Linked DNA regions of Homo sapiens: region 2 is linked to region 1. Evidence: promoter capture Hi-C in 16 types of primary human blood cells and fetal thymus (Javierre and others, 2016). All regions are on one chromosome and are shown on one strand. Each heading gives the region's core, a stretch centred on a gene start or on the middle of the fragment in contact. The rest is flanking DNA. Distances are from core to core; before and after follow the strand shown.

The links. Contacts are between HindIII fragments. The CHiCAGO score rates a contact against its expected background, and 5 or more counts as called.
Region 2: a contact is called between a fragment that was not itself captured here and the fragment with the promoter of ADAMTS5 in region 1, in 1 of 17 cell types (M2 macrophages). The highest score is 5.3, in M2 macrophages.

What each region holds. Positions count from the first base shown.
Region 1 is chr21:26,964,385-26,969,632 of GRCh38, reverse strand. ADAMTS5 (ADAM metallopeptidase with thrombospondin type 1 motif 5) reads left to right here and starts at 2,545. Exons shown (of 8, transcript NM_007038.5): 1 at 2,545-4,345. The coding sequence starts at 3,242. LOC124905050 reads left to right here. Exons shown (of 3, transcript XM_047441063.1): 2 at 1,663-2,189; 3 at 2,549-2,977. The coding sequence ends at 2,977. The HindIII fragment of the contact is 6,499 bases long and covers 345-5,248 here.
Region 2 is chr21:26,877,490-26,882,652 of GRCh38, reverse strand. The region is part of intron 1 of LOC105372760 (a long non-coding RNA gene); the gene reads right to left. Among named protein-coding and RNA genes, the nearest start is that of ADAMTS1, 35 kb to the right of the region's middle. The HindIII fragment of the contact is 1,589 bases long and covers 887-2,475 here.

The DNA.
Region 1 (5,248 bases), core at 1,296-3,795:
CCACTAGTGTAATGTTTTAAAAATACTACCAAATGAAGTTTCCAAAGTGTCCAAGTTACTTTCTAAAAAAAAAATTATATCGAAGTAGAAATTTTCTGAGATGTAAGAATTTATTCATTGTATTCATAAGATTTAGTATTTATTTCCTTGTGAATATATACCTCTAGTAAATATTCTGTGCTTGATATTCATGTTTGGAACTTTATCTGTGTCTATCCTGTTCTCCCCATGTATTTTTAAATATTTGAATAAACTGAGTACAAATGTCACTATATAATTAAACTTAAAGGCATAATATTCAGATTCAGGATTCAGCACGGTGTTTGTGAAAGAGGAGAAAAGCTTCATTAAGAAGAAAATTCAAGCCGTCACTGTGTCTCATCAGGTGGGAGAATCCCTGGAGGTTATGAGTTCAAGACCATCAAAGAAAAGAGAATCTGTTGGAATTTCCTGAAATCCTAAATAACAAAATCTATCTGTGAATGAAAATAATTGTAATTAACAAATTTTAACCACTGTCACCTAAAATGCCTATTAAAATGATTCTTTGGCATGAACAATGACAAAATTGTTAAATTTATTGAATCAAGGTTGTATTAGAAATGGTGTTTAGTGCCAAATATTGGACTCCTTTTCACTGTAACTGGTTAAAAAGATAAAAGTTTGCTATTTGTAGGTGCAAAGCAAGGACCACAAAAGAGAACGGCTAATGCAAGGCTCAAAGGCCTTGGTGGGATAGAGAAAATGGCTGGAACCTCCTATTCTGACCCATCCAGCTGTTAGCATTGGCCTGGGTCAACTGGCCACTGAGAGGCTGAGGCATTGTGGAATTATAAAGCAATGGCCTTCAGCAATAGTAACTTCCTCCCTGGTCCTGATGTATTTCAGAATCTATCAGGGGCTGTTGGGTGTCCCTAAGGCCCCAGTGATTTCTTTATTTATAAGTTAAAACAAGATGATACATCTGCCCCTCACAAGACTCCAGAGGGTGTTCCCAGGCACACGGCAATGGGTATTGTTGCCGGGCAATTCTGAAATTCCTTCCAGAGGATTATTGCCACTCTAAGAACCTCCATCAAGCTCTGGACCCTCATGGTTCCCTCCCAGAGAAAGCGATCAGCTTGGGGCCCCATTAAGGCACCCGCCCTGCTATCCCCAGCGTAGCCAAAGTTAAACGTAGAAAAAGATGGAAATGTACAAATTACACCACATTCATTTTTCACTGGTGCATTAGTTAATTAGCCTGAAGAATAATTTGGGCATGGAGGGAGCTCTTACCCCTACAGTAGAAGGTAGACCTTCTAACCATAAGTCGTCGGGTTTTCCTTCTCCCTTCTTAGAATGATAATTAGAGGAAACAAAGAGGTCAGAGGAAACGAGTAGCAGTGATAATGTCACCCGCGTACTAATAAGCACCAATCTTCCTTCCGCCAAAAGTATTCTTTTTCTTCTAAAAGGAATTTCTGAGAATGAAGGTAGGTCAAGGCCTATGGCGATAAGTGGTTGCTTTAGAAGAGACAAAAACAGATATAGGAATTTATTATTAAAGTATCATTTAAGCAAAAAATAAAAGTATGAGCGCAAAATTTTAAAATCTTTCAGGGAAAAAAAATGAGCGGAATTCCCTCTAAGAGTTAACTCTTTCTCGCTCTGCCTTTTTAGAGCAAAGGAAGTTCCAGTGGGCTGGGAGTAAGGGACAGATTGTGGACCCTGACGAAAGGCGTGCTGGAGAAAGCTGGGAGCCCGCCGTTCGCACACAAAGCTGCGGAGTTCCCAAGCGGCGGGCGTTCTCGCCCCGGGGTACCGCAGCGCGCCAGGAAGCGCCCTGGGCTCTCTGGCTGTCCAGCCGCTCTGCTGGTGGCCGGGAGAAGTTAGTCACCCGGAGCCCGAATCCGGCGAGCGTCAAAGCATCAAGAGGCTGGAGAATGGGGAGGGAGGAAACCGGGTGCCGGGACGGAGGGGAGGAAGCGAAGGGAACGCGGTGGTTAGGGGACGCACGGGAAGCTGAAAAGCTCTGGCTGGTGGATGGAGTTGCACGGTCTGCGAGGCCAGAGCGCACGGGTGTGCAAAGGGGAAAAACTTGCGGCAGGAACTTCCCACCGAGGGCGAGAAAAGCAGGCAAGAAGGAGGCAGGGAGAGACTTGAAACGTCTCAATAACTTTAACCAAAACACCCGTTCAGGAGATGAGGTAAGCCAAGGTTAGCCAACCCCAATTGGTTGTGAAATATCAGACAGACCCGGAGCCGCTGTGGCTTTAAAAGTGGCCAAGGAAATCTGTTTTTCTTGCCCCATTACTTTTTATTTTCCCCTCTCCCCTCCTACCACCTCGCCGGGTCCCAGTCCCTTCCTCCTACTTCGTCTCCCTTTCCTCGATCACCCTCCTCTTTTGCCCTCCCCCATCTGATTAGGCGCGGACTGGGAAGGGTGGGAGTGGTGGGGGAAGCTCTCCCTTTAAGAGGCAGCGTGCAGTGACGAACTGTTGAAATTGCCATTGCAGGATGGCATGCCGCTATAAATTCATTGTTCCACCTCCTCGCATCTTCACAGCGCTCGCGCTGCTCTCGGCGCTCGCAGCTGCCGACTGGGGATGACGGCGGGCAGGAGGAGACCGCAGCCGAAGGGACACAGACACGCCGCTTCACCAGCTCGCCTCAGGCTGCCCCCCTGCATTTTTGTTTTAATTTTTACGGCTTTTTCCCCTCTCTTTCTTCCCTTCCTCCTGGTCCCAGCAGAGCCAAGGAAACCCACAAAATAAGAAAGGAAGTGGGCCCCGGAGCTTGGAACCTCCACAGCCGGCTTGTCCAGCGCAGCGCGGGGGCGGGAGGCTGCGCGCACCAGTTGCCAGCCCGGTGCGCGGTACCTTTCCTTACTTTTCTTGAAACAGCGATCGTGCCTGCATTTGGTGGTTTTTTGGTTTTTGTTTTTTTCCTTTTCCCGTATTTGCTGAATCTCCACTATCCGACTTTTTTTTTTTAATCTTTTCTTTCCCCCCCCCCCCACCCCACCTCTTTCTGGAGCACGAATCCAAACATTTTCCCAAGCAACAAAGAAAAGTTCGCACGCTGGCACCGCAGCCCGGACAGGCTGGCGCTGCTGCCGGGCCCCCCTCCCTCCGACACTTGACTCAATCCTGCAAGCAAGTGTGTGTGTGTCCCCATCCCCCGCCCCGTTAACTTCATAGCAAATAACAAATACCCATAAAGTCCCAGTCGCGCAGCCCCTCCCCGCGGGCAGCGCACTATGCTGCTCGGGTGGGCGTCCCTGCTGCTGTGCGCGTTCCGCCTGCCCCTGGCCGCGGTCGGCCCCGCCGCGACACCTGCCCAGGATAAAGCCGGGCAGCCTCCGACTGCTGCAGCAGCCGCCCAGCCCCGCCGGCGGCAGGGGGAGGAGGTGCAGGAGCGAGCCGAGCCTCCCGGCCACCCGCACCCCCTGGCGCAGCGGCGCAGGAGCAAGGGGCTGGTGCAGAACATCGACCAACTCTACTCCGGCGGCGGCAAGGTGGGCTACCTCGTCTACGCGGGCGGCCGGAGGTTCCTCTTGGACCTGGAGCGAGATGGTTCGGTGGGCATTGCTGGCTTCGTGCCCGCAGGAGGCGGGACGAGTGCGCCCTGGCGCCACCGGAGCCACTGCTTCTATCGGGGCACAGTGGACGGTAGTCCCCGCTCTCTGGCTGTCTTTGACCTCTGTGGGGGTCTCGACGGCTTCTTCGCGGTCAAGCACGCGCGCTACACCCTAAAGCCACTGCTGCGCGGACCCTGGGCGGAGGAAGAAAAGGGGCGCGTGTACGGGGATGGGTCCGCACGGATCCTGCACGTCTACACCCGCGAGGGCTTCAGCTTCGAGGCCCTGCCGCCGCGCGCCAGCTGCGAAACCCCCGCGTCCACACCGGAGGCCCACGAGCATGCTCCGGCGCACAGCAACCCGAGCGGACGCGCAGCACTGGCCTCGCAGCTCTTGGACCAGTCCGCTCTCTCGCCCGCTGGGGGCTCAGGACCGCAGACGTGGTGGCGGCGGCGGCGCCGCTCCATCTCCCGGGCCCGCCAGGTGGAGCTGCTTCTGGTGGCTGACGCGTCCATGGCGCGGTTGTATGGCCGGGGCCTGCAGCATTACCTGCTGACCCTGGCCTCCATCGCCAATAGGCTGTACAGCCATGCTAGCATCGAGAACCACATCCGCCTGGCCGTGGTGAAGGTGGTGGTGCTAGGCGACAAGGACAAGAGCCTGGAAGTGAGCAAGAACGCTGCCACCACACTCAAGAACTTTTGCAAGTGGCAGCACCAACACAACCAGCTGGGAGATGACCATGAGGAGCACTACGATGCAGCTATCCTGTTTACTCGGGAGGTAGGTCCAGCCGGGATGCGGGGGTCCCAGCGCTGATATCAGGAGGTAGGTAGAAGGGAATCTTGCTGGTGGCTTTGCTTCTCCCTCAAACCTCCTGCAGCTGTGGATGTGTTTAACTGCTTCTTGCAGGAAATCCAACCAGCCTTCAACTCTGCTCCTGTATTCACGTTAGCCCCGCAGAAATTTTTGCCTTAAATGCCAAGACTTGCTTAGGTGATGATGAAGACCCAGTAGTGCTGCATGTCATCTAGTCTGAGGTGTTGTGGCATAGGAACGTAAACATAAGAAGGCACAAGGATGCTTGGGGAAATGATACAGTTAAATGGGGAAAAGGAAGGAAAACAAAGTTGCCTTTGGGATCATGGGTCTTCTTCTTTCCAGTGAAAATAAAATATAACCTTGTCCCACCTAATGGAAAGGGCTGGATGGTTCACTCACGGTACTCACTGTTATCCGATGACCTTCTTTTGTAAGTGTCCACACCTTTTTACTAGAATCCCTTCTGTTACACAGAGGATGAGAAAACTTTCTCAAGGACTCTTTTTCCAGGTTGGATTCCTAATGGAGTTCTTACATGTCCACCTTGGAATCTCAGTTCCTGGGAAGGAAGGAATGTGGGCGGGCCAGCAGGGTACAGAGACCCAATCAGATGAGAGGACAAACTTGTGAGGTTCCTTAACAACTCCTTTGCTTAGTCGACCAGTGCGTCGCAAGCACTGCCCAGGCCAACTCCGCCGCCTAGGGAGGGTCACATCCCGTTTGCGTGTTTGGGTTTTGGATGAATATGTTTCCGAAGCCCCAGTGCAGAAGATCTGGGCGAAGAGTCAAGACAGAAGGAAGAAATGTTTTCCCAGCATTTCCCCCTTTTAAGAAAGATGGTTATGGGGAAGCAAAGAAATGGAT
Region 2 (5,163 bases), core at 432-2,931, 86 kb after region 1:
TTAATTTTTTCTGGTTGTGTCAATCAATGATATAGGTCCTCTAAGCAGCCATAGGAGCCTACTGATTTTTAAGTGTTTTAAAAGGGAAAGAGTAGGTATAATTCAAAGTCAATATGAATGTAAGTGCTGGGATTTATAGTGGGGGAGGGGATATAATGGATATGGTTGGCAGGAGTTGAATCCCATGATTCAAAAAACTCTAATAAGGAAACTTCACAGCTTCTATTCAAATCAAACTTAGGTCTCATAATTCTAATTCCATCAAATTACATTTACCCATTCTGAAAAAAAAATAGCTCTAATAAATGTCCTCTGCTTTGCTTACTTACCATCTTGATAAAGCGGCTTGAATTCTAGGTGAGGTACAGAATGTGCTCTCAAAATCCCACAACAAAATAGCAAAATTACCCACTTACACTAACGTCTCGTGTTTTCAAAACCACAGTTTTGAATTTGACCAACAATAAGGATCTCTCTGCTTTAGGTTAGAAATGGAAAATATTATTGACTGTCACCCAGGATCTGCCATTGACAGGTCATTCATTAAACAGTCTATTTTCTGTAACCCTGAGGCACACAGTAGTGTGAAGTTGGATTCAGATAAGGGCATCTGTTCATTCAAAACTTATGGTACAAGCATGACTCCAAAGAAAATCAGATTAGCCCGCATATGCCAATGTCTCTGATGATTACACACAAAAAAAGATCACTAGTTTGGTAGGCTGAAAGATATTAAATTAAATATACATAGCTGCAAGACAAATGAATTTCAAATGCTTTAAGTTGGATTGAAAATAGCAGCTTTTCTTCAAAATATCGACAGCTTAATATTTACAAGTTACTAAGAAGCAATTTAAGTATTTAAACCTAAAAGAAGACTAAAGCTTCTCTACCATTTCTTTTATCTCACCAAATTCTACTTACTTGGAGGTCACATATCTGCTTTTTAGTGCCACCTTTTGGGTGGTCTTGTTATTACATAACATTAAAATTGAAACGCTGGAAATTCAGTGTGTGTTTTAATTGAACTTTAGCATATTAAGTTTATGCTCTTAGTTGTCCACATTAACTGCACAGTTTATTTAGATAGAGACACTTTTCACTTGTCTTCTGTAATAAAGCAGAAGCTGTGAAGTTTCCTTGAGTTTTTTGAATCGTGGGATTCAACCCCCACCAATCTCATCCATTATATTCTCCAACCTCAATATAAACCCCAGCACTTACATTCATGTAAAGTTTGACTTTGAATTATACCTACTGTTTCCCTTTTAAAAAACTTAATGCTCCCACGGTTGCTTAGAGGATCTATGTCATTGATTGACACAACCAGAAAAGATTGAATTGCTTTTCTAATGCCGCATGATTTGCAAGCAGTGGAGCTCAAGCCAAACCTAGGTCTCATCAATCTAACTCCATCAATTACATTTACACATTCTGAAAAAATATATATATTAGCTCTAACAAATGTCCTCTGCTTTGCTTACTCGTATCTCGAAAAAGTGGCTTGAAATTCAGGTGAAGTATAAAATCTGCTCTCAAAATTCTACAGCAAAATAATAAAATTACTTACACTAACATCTGGGGTTTTTAAAACTATAGTTCTGAATTTGACCAACAACAAGGATCTTTGTGCTTTAGGTTAGAAATGGAAAATATTATTGACTGTCACCCAGGATCTACCATTGACAGGTCATTCATTGAAGAGCCTATTTGGCATATTATCCACCCATTCACCTAGATTCTCAAAGTCCCATTCCCATAATTAAGTAGATCATTGAACAATAGGAAATCTAAAAAATATTAATACAGTATCCATAAGAAATATTTTATAAATTTATAATATAATATTCAGCTCTTGGGTCAGTAAAAACATCATCTCTTTAAACACAATTTTAGAGCTATTTTTGGTAAAACCATAGTAGTTTTTCATTGATTTTTAATGTACCTTATGAGAGCACCTCTTTTACATGCAAAAAAAAAAAAGTTAAGTGAATTGGTATCATTTAAATTTTGTAACTAAAAAATGTCTTTGCTTCCAGGCAAATCAAACTTCATGCCCAATTATGATAATTAAATAATCTCAGGTATTTGGTCATGTTTACTCTTTTTACTCTTTGCTGGTGACCTCTGTTCTGTTTTTGTTTTCATTCCAAATTGCTCTGCCTTTTGTTATGTTTGCTTTTCCAAATTATCTTAAATCTTGTTGGATGTGGCACAAGTGTCAAAATGAAAGGGGTTAATTCAAGGATTCCAGGAAAGAGGTGGTTGCTGCAGCTAGCATCAGACAAGAGTGGGGTGGAAGAGCCTTCCAAGATTTCACGGGTCATAGCTAAGGCCAATGGAGAGGTAAAGCAAAAGACAATGAGAGCGAATGCAAGATAAACAGAGAAAATAATGTATTGAACATGTTGAGATAGCCGGCAAGAAGACTTGTAATCAGACAGAGCCATGGCTAAAGATTCTCAAGAGAAAGCTTATGAAGCCCACTGGGTCTGATTGAAGAGCTGGGTTAGCAGGAGTTTACCATGTAGAAGTCAGGTTGTCTTACTGAAGCAAAACCACTCTGGTCATGTACTTAAGAATTTATGACAGTGAATTACAGATAGTAATCCACCAAAGGCAAGGATACTTTTTGAGAAATGGTACCTATGCTTCCTTCTGAACCCACGCACTGACTTCACCCCATGGTTCACCAGTGGTTCAGTGCTTCCCTCCTGAACCCACCCATTTTGAGAAATTCTGCTTCAGTGTGAGAAAGGAGTAACTGGAGAAAAGAAGCTGTACAAATCTAGAATTCATCAATGATATAAATGAATACATTCCACACAATACTACAACATGTTCACTGAGTTTATTTAAGCTTTAAGATTATTTACTGGCTGGGCGTGGTGGCTGACACCTGTAATCCCAGCCCTTTGGGAGGCCGAGGCGGGCAGATAGCCTGAGGTCGGAAGTTTGAGACCAGCCTGGCCAACACGGTGAAACCCCATCTCTACTAAAGATACAAAAAAAAAATTAGCTGGGTGTGGTGGCACATGCCTGTAATCCCAGCTACTCGGGAGGCTGAGACAGGAGATTCGCTTTAACCTGGGAGGCAAAAGTTGCTGTGAGCCAAGATCTCACCATTGTACTCCAGCCTGGGTGACAGGGCAAGACTCCGTCTCAAAAAAAAAAAAAAAAAAAAAAAGATTATTTACTGTCTGCCACATGGTATGATGAAACACAAATTTGTTTTAAAGGTTGTATCCTCTGAAAGTATACTGTGCCCACTTTAGTGTGTGTACATTGACAATAATTTAAAGCCAATCAATGTTGTGCGATTGCTCTCCATATAGTGGAAGCCAGTTCTGTTTGGGAATCAACATAAATGTCCACAAACAGGAAAAACTGTACTTCTCAGAGTCATTATTAGCTTTAAACATCAGCTATTAATTGAAAAATAAACGCATATGTAAAGCGTGCAAATCTTATTGCCTTCTCTATTTTGTTAGTATATCGAGAAACCATCACTTCCAATAATGGGGAAAACATGCAGCATCCATAATAAAGTACTATTTGTTTGTTGTCCACAAAATGCAGCAAATTAGTTAATTTGTTGTTTATACCTAAATAGAATCCTCCAGAATCACTTAAATACCCACATGGATTTGTCTTCATAGCATATTTAAGAAGTACAATATATTTGGTTTTTCTTCTTTCACAAACTGGGAAATGCAGCCTCAGAAATGAGTTGAGGCTTTCCCCCAAGTTCATTGGTCTGACTTCCACATTAGACTTCACACTAAAATTGTGTACTACTTTTGTCTTGTACATATTTATATTTTAAACTCCTGAAGAATGTCAATAGTTATCTGTACTGCTCATTTGGCTCCTAACAGAAAATGTATGCAATAGAAGGTCTATTTGGTACTTAAGGACTTTTATACCAAATATATAACTGAATTCATCCAAAAGAAATATTGTTCATAAAAGATAGAATTATATTTTCTACAAGCAATTATATATTCTATACTGCACAAACAAAAGACATTTAAGTTATATAACTTCTAATTACAAAATGACAATTAATGTCACCCAATTTCCAGGAAATACAGTTTCAAAGCATTAGTTCAAAACAAAAATGTGTGTTATTACCTTATATAAGTTTACGTGATAGAAAAATTCTAAATAAAGGCCACCATTAATTTTAATCTATAATTTTAAATAATTGGCCTAGAAACTACATTTTTAGATTCTTATGCAAGTTATTCTCTTAAGTAAAAAATGTCAAAAGATTTAAGAAACACATTAATTAAATGAAATAAAATGTTTACTTAAAAATAACATACAGTATTTTTAAATAAACTTTTTATTTTGAATCGCTTTAGTTGCAAAGAACATAGAGGCTCCATGTACTCTTCAGTCTGATTTCCCTAATGTAACCCTCTTACACAACCATGGCTTAATTGTCAAAACTAAAAGATTAACATCAATACATTGATAAATTAAACTGCAGACTTTACTCTGGTTTCACCAGTTTTTCCTCTAATTCTTTTTCTGTTTCAGAAGTTAATACAGGATACCACATTGCATTTAGTTAGATCAATTTTTTCTGAAAACATGTTTACATTTATTTTGGATAAATAAGTATAATTAATATAATAAATATTACTTATTATTAAAATATGTGACGTAAGAATAAATCTAATACATTTATTTGCCAAGAGGTTGTATGAAACTTAGAGAAAACTTTGAATTGTATCAATGGTTTTGTAACTTCTAGTATAATTATTCTTTTCATCTTGCTCTCATGGTGCATTTGTTTACATTTAGTGTATTGTGTAAGCATTAAATTATATGAAAATATTGAAATAATAAATTCCACACATAATCGGAGAAAGTAAAATTTATATTTTCATATATTCATTATAGTATTATTTATACTGTTTATAGAAGTATTTCTATGACTAAAAACTATCTGGGTTAGATAAATGGACTATTTGCATAGATAGAGATGCTACTCTCAAATACCTAAAAACTAAAGACAGGGGACAGATAATTTTAACCACTCAAGGCTTGGGTATTTTTCTGAGGAATTGTGGAATAGAAATCTATCTTATTAAAGCCTTTTTGGAAATTGCATTTAGAGCCAATATATTTTGGATTTGCTCACTGATATCATAG